Regions from separate parts of the Homo sapiens genome. Here region 2 is linked to region 1. The links are contacts of gene promoters, found by promoter capture Hi-C in human tissues and cell types (Jung and others, 2019). All regions are on one chromosome and are shown on one strand. Each heading gives the region's core, a stretch centred on a gene start or on the middle of the fragment in contact. The rest is flanking DNA. Distances are from core to core; before and after follow the strand shown.

What was found. The method cuts DNA at HindIII sites, captures the fragments that hold promoters and counts their contacts. A contact is called where the count stands out against the background at its distance.
Region 2: a contact is called between a fragment that was not itself captured here and the fragment with the promoter of PNMA2 in region 1, in 3 of the 25 tissues and cell types used here (aorta, hippocampus and small bowel).

Annotation. Positions count from the first base shown.
Region 1 is chr8:26,511,398-26,516,632 of GRCh38, reverse strand. It overlaps PNMA2 (PNMA family member 2), which reads left to right and starts at 2,761. Exons shown (of 3, transcript NM_007257.6): 1 at 2,761-2,817. It overlaps DPYSL2 (dihydropyrimidinase like 2), which reads right to left and starts at 2,602. Exons shown (of 14, transcript NM_001197293.3): 1 at 1,954-2,602. The coding sequence starts at 2,307. RefSeq lists enhancers at 3,647-4,519, 4,306-4,600. The HindIII fragment of the contact is 13,621 bases long and covers 1-5,235 here.
Region 2 is chr8:26,544,641-26,549,550 of GRCh38, reverse strand. The region is part of intron 1 of DPYSL2 (dihydropyrimidinase like 2); the gene reads right to left. It also overlaps the pseudogene PSME2P5. Among named protein-coding and RNA genes, the nearest start is that of DPYSL2, 33 kb to the right of the region's middle. The HindIII fragment of the contact is 4,356 bases long and covers 195-4,550 here.

The sequences.
Region 1 (5,235 bases), core at 1,512-4,011:
TCTGCGTGCCTTAGTTTTACAATTTAGAATTTCATATATCTAAGCTTCTAAATGGCCAAGAAAAAAGAAGTGTTATTCAACCCGATAAAACTATGCCTTTCAAACTTGAGTTCTAATTCATGATAGGGGTGGGCCACTTTCAACCCCTATCCTCTGATCTGCCACTTTTTACATGATTTCTTCTTTATTCTCCAGTTGTTTTTCTGCTTTCTCTAGGACATCACAATCACCAGCACAACTCGCCATGCATGAGGCTACTCACTCAACCAAGATGCTATATGATTTTGGCCCTCACTCAATGTACTCACACAGGGAAGTGTTTCACACACACTCACTCAGCTTTCAGTATAAGTTACATTATTAGAAACTTTTACTTCAATTGTCTGATCACTTGGAACAAAGCAAGTTTTTTGGATTTAGTTTCTTCTGGTTGACTCATAGTGAAATATGGATATGAGACACTCCCTTATATGAATAAATTAGAGGGCAGGGCTGGGGTTGGATATAAATTATTAGTTGTGTCACCTTTTACAAATGACAGCAAATGCCTTGTTTTTCCTAGACTTGACCCTACAAAAGTCAAAAGCTGCAAAACTCTATGTCACATCAGCAAACAGTCAAATCATGCCCCAACCATCATCACCAATTCTGAATTGTTCTCAAAGGCTGTCACTGTAAGTACACAAATGTAAATGCTTGTGGAATCCCTCGCTGAATATGTATAGACCACTCCCAACTACTCTGGAAGCCCTCTGAGAAGAAGAAACCTCTTGCACTTTCTATAACTAACCTTCCCTCTGCCCTACAAGGCAAGGCGCACAATAGGTATTCAATCAACAATCATTCATTGATTGACTTATTATTTTTACCAGCAGGCATGGGAGAGAAACGGAAAACGTGTTAAAACATTTTGCATTGTAAATTATCAGTTAAGAAATTAAGGCTGTGGAAAAGAATTACACTAGTGTAAGGATCACTCAGATAAAGAAAGAATTGTGGTGTGAGATTATTACTGCGCTGAAAATGCTCACTGTTCATATTTGTCAGAAAGTGACAAACATTTTCTAAAATCAAGCGTGACCAAATTGGCCTTTGTTTCCCCCATTAACACAATAAAAGGGGGTTTAGTCTTCTTCGACAGTCTATTTCGAGTGCGAGGGGTTTTCCCCCTTTTCTTGTCTTTTTGACCCTTTGAACATAATCCACTTAGTTCCCCGCTTCCTAAAGCGCCTCCCACATAGCGGTTTGGGGAGCGCTCTGTGAAGCCCCGGCTGAGACACTTATTGGAACTTTGTTCCCCACATAGGCTATTTAGGAGCGTCTCGGTTTCCTCGGGTGACTCCACAGCCTTCCTGGCTCTTCTCACGCTGCGAGCAGGAGTCAAGGGCGGTGCGGTGCTCGGAGGGGGTCCGGGGGGCGCTGACCATGGTCCTGGCCTCGGAGCTCGGGACGTGAGCGCAGAAGGCGCGGGCGGAGGCTGTAGGGAGCGGCCGTCCGAACCCCCGCCCCTCCCGACCACCGGGGAGCCGCGGGCCTTCACGCAAAGCCTCCACCGCACGCTCTGAGCCGCTCAAAAAAAGGGTGGGGCACCCAGCCGCAGCTGCAATCGGAAGCCGCCCGGGAGGGTTTCAGAAGAATGGAACCGCGGCCAACCCCCTCCCAGACGACCACCGCCCGCCCCAGCAGGGGATCAGCCCATTCCCTATGCCCACGCCCCACCTCTCAAGCTCAAGGAGACGCGGGCAGCCTTTGTGGGCGCACGGCCGCCCACCGCCCAGCCCGAGCCTCGCCGCACCCTGCGCGGAGAAGGGGCGGGTAGGGCGGGGTGCGCGTGCAGATGCGGGAGGCGAGGTCCAGGGCGGGGCATGAAGGCGGGCGCGCCGGGCTCAGGGGCGAGGGAGGGGCGATCCCCGCGCCCCGTCCTCCGTCTCCACCCCCAACCCCCACACCGACCTGGTCGTTGATGTTCTGCAGGGCTTCTTTGCCCGAGGCCCTCCGGATCTCCACCTTCCGGCCCGATTCAACAGATGGCTCTCCGCCGGCGCGCCGGCCCTGCCGCGAGTACGGCGGCTGCGGGTCCGGGCCCAAGTGGGCGACGTCCCGCTGCTGAGCCACCACCTGCCCCGAGCCCCGGCCCACCGACAGCGAGTCGAAGTCGATGGTCTTGTTCTCCGAGGACCCTTCCACCGGGCAGAACATGCCACAGAATTTCTGCCGGGGCTTGGGGCTGCCGGAGCCCAGGTTTTTAAAAAAAGCAGGGACCTCTTCGTCCTCTGCCGCCTTCCCGGATTGCTTTCTCTCGGCCATGGCTCGGGGGCTCGGGTAGGGTCCTCGCCGTCCGTCCGTCCGTCTGCCAGTCCCTAAGTCTCCCTCGCTGTGTGCACAAGCCCCCTAGCTGCTGCCGCGGCTGCCGTTCGCCGCCCACCGCAAGGTGCACAGAAAGGAAGGAGGGCTGGCGAGCCGGCGACCCACCCTCCCGGTCCCTCCCCCTGACCCCGCTTCTCCCCTCCCTGCCCACGCCCCCCGCGGCTACAGCGCGAGCTCGGGGAAGCGGCAAAGTTGGATCTGGGAGGGCGTCCGCTGCGGCTGCGGGAGCCGAAAGGCTGCCAGTTCCCGGCAGCGCTGGGAGGAGGGAGGCGCGGGCGGGGCGCGGCGCCGGGGAGGGGAGCGGTGCTCAGGGGAGGGCTGGAGGGGAGGGAAGGAGAGAGAGAGGGGAGGGCGGCACCGCCCCTAGCCCCGCGCTCCGGAAGTGAAGCGGCCAGACCACCAGCTAATGGATGCGGAGCGGAGGGCCCGCTGACCGCTCTCCGCGCCTGGGTAAGTATCGGGCAGGGCACGCGGAGTGAGGACCGGAGGACGCAGCCCCCAGCCCCAGTGCCCCTCTCCTCCACCTGCCTGGCCCAGGCGCCTCTGCCCCGCCGCATGGCGGAGGTGGGCCGGGGGCGAGGGCGCACTGTGGATAGGGGTCCCGCCCCGTTACCCTGGGTGTGAGCTGATGGATGGGAAAAGGGGACAAGCCGGGCGCCAGGCTACTCAGGGTGTGGGAAGCGGGATGGCACTGAAGATGAGCAAGGATAGCACAGGCAGGGTGGACAGGAGGGGGGCAGCCAAGACGCTGGACACCCCAGCTTCAGTTTGTCCACTCGCCTTGGCAGGCTGCAGGGAGCAGAGACTGAAACGAGAAGGTTCCCGCTTCGTGCATCCACTTTGGTGTGGTTGGGGTGACGGGGGAGTGGGGGGGGGGCACACAACATGGCGGGAAGAAATTCAGAGGGGCGTAGCAGATGGGAGAGGAATATAGAGAGAGACGCAGGTCTGCGGTCTATGGGGGTGTAGCAAAGAGTGCAGTCGGGAATTCCAGCCCAGGGCCACGACTTAAAGACGGGGTGCAGACCGACTCTATTGCGCAAGGCGCCATGGACCGTGTCTGCGCCACTGCGCCAAGAAGGGCGCAGGAACGTGTCGCGATTTGGTTTATTCTGCTTCCTCCACCAAAAAAAAAAAAAAAAAAAAAAAAAGAGAGAAAAAACAAACTGAAACCCCCTTCCCAAATCTCCAGCTTTCCCCTGCGCCCCAGAGCCCCGCCTGGTTCCCCCGCCCCTGTTGCGCACTGCGCCACAGTCGCAGCGTTTCCCGGGTTACCAGATGCCACGTGTTTGGGGAGTAAGTGCGGGTGCGCATCTGGTGCGGAGTAGGAGGTAGGATGTGGGCTGTGAGTGCCATGAATTGTGTGGGGCCAAGCAGGGGAAAGGTGTGTAGGAACTTGGTGTGTGTGTGCAGTAGCTGAGCCACGGCCACCGGGTTGGTAAGTAACCAGGGGGCAATTAGATTTGTGTGCCTAACACGGTCAATGCTGGTCCTTCATTGCTTATTCCCATCTCCACGTCCTTTCCGCGTATCAGTCCCTGCCTCTGCGCGATGACAGCTCCGCCTCTCTTTCCACAGTGGCAAAATCCTGCAGAAATGGTGCCCCTCCTTTGGTGGCCCGGGAGGGAGTTCTGGGCATGCTCAGTAACCAGGGTGGGTTTGGGCTGAGAGGCCGTTTACCGCAGGGCCACCGCGTAGGGCCGTGTAACCAGGGATCCAGTCCCATTGTCAGCCCAGGATTAAATGCGGTTACCAACCACCCCCACAGTCCAATTGTGAGAGATAGTTTGGTGAATATAGTTACATCTGCTGGACAATCAGTCGCAATTTGAAGATCAGCCCATCTTGATAGGTGGAAAGGCGTCTCCGGATGAGAAACAGACTGGGGAAGAAGAATATAGGAGTGGAGGGGCTGAGAGAACCGGAGGGGGCATTTTGGACTTAGCGGCAGATGTGCTTTGCATTTGAATAAAGCATTTGAAAAAAGCGCTTCCAACTGAATTACATCATTTCCTACTCACAGCCCCACTGTGAGATGCGTGCCTTATCAGCACTGCTTTCCAGGTTAGGAAACAGATTTAGAGAGCTTGGGGCGCATAGCCAAGGTTGGGTATTTAGTTAAATGATCCAGCAATTCCAGTGGGAGTCTTCCACCTCAAAGTCTGGCTTCTTTTCCAGCTTGTCCTGTGACCCCCTTTATGTGAGAAAATACAAGGTTCTTCTATTTCTACCGTATCCAGATATTTCCATCCATGGCCCTATTGTATATCAAGGGTGTTTCTTGCCATGTTTTTATTTGAAGGTAACACTGCAGGTCACACTGGGAGGAAGAGTCATCTGAAGATAGCCTAACTTCAGCATAGCAGTCATTCTGTAGACCATAGAGATGCTTTTTCCTGGGCAGTGTCTTTTTACATTCCCTGTTTCCTCTAAATATCCCAGTGGGGAGGAAGGTTGCCCCCAGCTGGTTTTTTTATTTTTGTTTTTGTTTTCAGACAGAGTCTCACACTGTCACCCAGGCTGGAATGCAATGGTGCAAACGCAACTCACTGTAGCCTTGACCCACTCGGCTCAAGCAGTCCTCCCTCCTCAGCCTCCCAAGTAGTTGGGACTACAGGCGAGTGCCACACGCCCAGCTAATTTTTTTATTTTTCCTTTTTGTAGAGACAGGGTCGCACTATGTTGCTGGTCTCAAACTCCTGGGCTCAAGTGATCCTCCCGCTTTGGCCTCCCAAAGTGCTGGGTTTACAGGTGTAAGCCACTGCACCTGGCCCTCCCCCACAGTCCCCACATTTTAGAAAGGAAAAGTCAGGCATGGAGAAGTCAGCAGTCTCAGGTCTCTGGGGCTCCTGGGCACAGGGGTGAAGC
Region 2 (4,910 bases), core at 1,123-3,622, 33 kb before region 1:
GGTATGCTATCATTAATTTTGAGAAATTCGCAGTCATTATGGCTTCCAGTATGTCCCCTGTCCCTTTCTGTCTTTCTGCTCCCTCTGATATCACCTTTATACATATATTAAATCTTTGGTAATTTTCTCGTATTTCTTGGATATTCTGTTCCGTCATTTTCATTGTTTTCTCTCTCTTCATTTCCATTTTGGAAGTTTCTACTGACATTTCTTCAAGCTCGCTGATTCTTTCTTTGGCTGGGTCCTGCCTCTTGATCAATCAAATAAAAGGCATTCTTCATTTCTAGTATAGTGTTTTCTTTATTTCTAGCATATCCTTTTGATTATTATTATTATTATTATTATTATTAACTTAATTTTTTTGAGACAGTCTTCCCTCTGTCACCTGGGCTGGAGTGCAGTGGCATGATCTCAGCTCACTGCAGCCTCCGCCTCCTGGGTTCAAGTGATTCTCTTGCCTCAGCCTCCCGAGTAACTGGGATTACAGGCACCTGCCACCATCCCTAGCTAATTTTTGTATTTTTAGTAGGGACGGGGCTTCCCCATGTTGGTCAGGCTGGTCTCAAACTCCTGATCTCAAATGATCTGCCCGCCTCAGCTTCCCAAAGTGCTGGGATTATAGGCGTGAGCCACTGCGCCCGGCCTATTTTTTATTTGGTTTGGTTTTGTTTTTGAGATGAGGTCTCACTCTGTCACCCAGGCTGGAATGCAGTGGCGCAATCACAGCTCACTGCAGCCTTGACCACCAGGCTCAAGTGATTCTCCTGCCTCAGCCTCCCAAGTAGCTGGGACCACAGGCATGCACTACCATGTCTGGTGACTTTTTTTTTTTAAGAGAGGAGGTCTCACTATAGTGCTTAGGCTGGTCTTGGATTCCTGAGTTCAAACAATGTTCCTGCCTCAGACTCCCAAAGTGCTGGGATTACAGACATAAGCCACCACACATGGCCTGAATATTATTATTATTATTATTACTATTATTATTACTGTTAGGAGTTTAGGAGTGGAGGTTTAATAGGTAAAAAAATAGGAAAACAGCTCTCTGTCTACTGTGAGAGAGGGGACTTCTGAGAGGAAAAGGCCTTGATTATTGTCTTTTAATCCACACAAAGTATAAGTCATTTATTTCTCTTCTAGCCCTGGGCTCAGTATATAGACGGCTTCTCTTCACCCTTTGGGTTAACAATTTTCTCCAGGTTGCTTCTGAAATTATGATAAAGCTCAGCATAGAAAGCCCTCAGTTCAAGCACGGTGTCCCCGATCTCCCCATAGGTGCCTCATCTTGCCTGTGCACCAAGGCCTGGTAATAATCCATTACATGAATTTCCTTGGAGGCCTTGGCCACAGCATCTCCATGTTCTGAGAAGTACTTGGACGTGGTTGTCTGGAACCACTTTGGTCTTGACTGCCTTTATCCTCTCCAGCACCTTCTCCCGGAGTGATATCCCAAAATAATGTCCATCCTCAATCTTGGGGATCAGATGCTGGATCCATGTGATCACCAGAATGCATTTCTCTTTGAGAGTCCAGACTTCTGTCTTATCCAGGGGAACAGGAAAAGGACCTTCTCATGCCAGGGAGACTTCTTTCTCCTCCTGCTTATCTGTTTCCAACTCATCATCCTTGGATAGAGGGTCTGGGATGGGGATTTCAGTGGCACTCAGAGGGAGGTCAGATCAGCCACATTGAAGGACTCCTTTTGCAAGAGCTGATTCAGATATATGACTTTCTGTGGCAAGAATCTGTAGGGGAATTCCTCAGCCTCCTGGAAAAGATTTTGCCTGAAGACCTCCGCCTGCTTGCAGGCCTTCCCGCTCAGATGCACTCCACAAGGCTGGGCCATGCTGCTCCAGGTGCTACATCTCTGGTCTCCTGGCTAGTCCTGATTCTTTATTAAAGTCCCCATCTCTCTGCTTATATTATGCATCTGTTCTTGCATGTTTTTCACTTTTGTCCATTAGAGGCCTTAACACGTTAAATAGTTATTTTAAATTCCTGTCAGCAATCCAAAATCTCTACAATATCTGGGTCTGGTTATGATGCTTGTTCTGTCTCCTCAAATTGTTTTTTGTCTTTCAATTTGCCGTGTAATTTTTTGTTGAAGGGTGGATACAATGTACTGAGTAAAAGGAATCTGCATCTTGCTGCTGCAGTGGGCTTCTGCTCCAGTAAGCAATTTTTTTTTTTTCAATCAGGGTCTCTCTCTGTCAACCAGGCTGGAGTGCAGTGGCACAATCTTGGCTCACTGCAACCTCCACCTCCTGGGTTCAAGCAGTTTTCTTGCCTCAGCCACCCGAGTAGCTGGGATTACAGGTGTGTGCCACCACACCCGGCTAATTTTTGCATTTTTAGTAGAGACAGGATTTCGCCACATTGCCCAGGCTGGCCTCCAACTCCTTGGCTCAAGCAATCCACCCACTTCGACCTCCCAAAGTGCTGGCATTACAGGCATGAGCCACCGCTCCTGGCCTCTAGTAAGCTTTGATTCTGTGTATGGGCTTGTCTCACCAATTGCAGGTGAAGTGTCTTGCCTTGTGACCTCAATCATCTGACTGATAAAGAGTTGTTGATTTTCAGTTTCTGCAGGATTTTTCTTTTCTTTTTTTTTTTTTTTTTTTTTTTTTTTTTTGAGACTGAGTCTCCCTCAGTCGCCCAGGCTGGGAGTGCAGTGGCGCGATCTCGGCTCACTGCAAGCTCCGCCTCTCGGGTTCACGCCATTCGCCTGCCTCAGCCTCCTGAGTAGCTGGGACTACAGGTGCCCGCCACCACGCCCGGCTAATTTTTTTTGAATTTTTAGTAGAGACGAGGTTTCACCGTGTGAGCCAGGATGGTCTCGATTTACTGACCTCGTGATCCACCCGTCTCGGCCTCCCAAAGTGCTGGGATTACAGGCGTGAGCCACCACGCCCGGCCTCTGCAGGATTTTTCTTGTTGTGAGAATAAAAGTCTAGCATCTCAGATAAGAAACTAGAAGCTTTCTCACTGAATCCCAATTATGTAACATTTATGTTACATACAATTATGTGTATATACACACAATAAATATAAAGGTGTCTAATTTATTTTTAAAAGACTCTAGAAAGATATACACCAAAATGCTAATATTTTTGATATTTGTTGAGCAGATGGTGTAATCATCTATGTAGAAGGTCTAAAACAATCAACAAAAAAACTGGAACTGATAAGCAATTGTAGCAAAGTTGCAAGATACAAGGTTAATATACAAAAGTCCATTGCTTTCCTGTATAGCAACAATGAATAAGTGGGATTTATAATTAAAAACACAATACAATTTACATGAGCACCCACGAAATGAAATCTTTAGGTATAAGTCTAACAAACACATCCAAGATCTATGTAAGGAAACCTACAATTTTTTTGATGAACAAAATCAAAGAAGAGCTAAATAAATGAAGAAATATTCCCAAGTTCATGGATTGGAAGACAATATTGTCAAGATGTCAGTTCTTCCCAACTGGATCTATACATTCGACACAATCAAAATCCCAATCAAAATGCCAGCAAATTGTTTGTGGATATCAACAAATGAAATCTAAAGTTTATATGAAAAGCCAAAAGACCCAGAATAGGCAACGTGAAATTGAAGGAGTAGAACAAGTCAGATACTTCCTGACTTCAAGATTTACTATAAAGCTATGGTTGTCAAGACAAACAGATCAAGGGAAGAAAACAGAGAGCCCAGAAAGAAACACACATAAATATAGTCGAATTATCTTTGATAAAGGAGCAGGGAAATTCAATGCTGAGATTATTTTTTTTTTTTGAGATGGAGTCTCACTCTGTTGCTCAGGCTGGAGTGCAGTGGCATAATCTCAGCTCACTGCAACCTCTGCCTCCCGGGTTCAAGTGATTCTCCTGCCTCAGCCTCCCAAGTAGCTGGGATCACAGGTGCATGCCACCATGCCCAGCTAATTTTTTGTATTTTTAGTAGAGATGGGGTTTCACCATGTTGGCCAGGATGATCTTGAACTCCAGACCACGTTAGCCAGGCTAGTTTGGAGGTCCTGACCTCAAGTGATCTGCCCACCTGCTTCCCAAAGTGCCGAGATTACAGGCGTGAGCCACTGCGCCTCGCTAAGACACTTTTTAAATTCCCTTTTGATACCTTCTTTGAGCCAATGGTTGTTCTGGAGTGTGTTTTGTTTCCACATATTTGTGAATTTTCCTGTTTTCTTGCTGTTATAGGTTAGTAGTTACATTTCATTGTGGTTGAAAAAGGTACTTAGAATTATTTTGAACGTCTTAAATTTGTTAAGACTCATTTTGTGGCCTAATATGTGATCTATCCCAGAGAATGTTTTGTGTGTGCCTGAGAAAAATGTGCATACTTCTGCTGTTGGATAAGAAGTTCTGCATATGGTGGTTAGGTCCATCTTTTCCATAGTGTTGTTCAAGTCAGTGTTTCTTTATTGATTTTCTGTCTGGATGTTCTATCACTTATTGTTAAGTGAGGTATCAAAGTCCCCTACTATTAATGTATTGCTGTCAATTCCTGTCCTCAGATCTGTCAATATTTGCTTTATATATTCAGGTGCTCTGATGTTGAGTGTGTATATGATTGTTATATTGTTATATTTTCCTGTAGAACTGACCTTTTTATCACTATAAAATGATCTTCCTTGTGTCTACAGACAGTTTTAGACCTAAAGTCTATTTTGTCTGATATAAGTATAGCCCCCTCTGGTTTCTTTTGGTTACTATTTGCATAAAATATCCTTTTCTATCCCTTTACTGTCAACCTACATGTGTCTTTAATTCTAAAGTGTATCTATTCATTTTGTACACTTTGTATTAAAATTCACAGAAAAGCTGTCTTCTCAAAAGGACTTTTAGAAGTAAAATGATAACATCACGTCCAAGTGACACATGTACTTATATCCATCAGATTG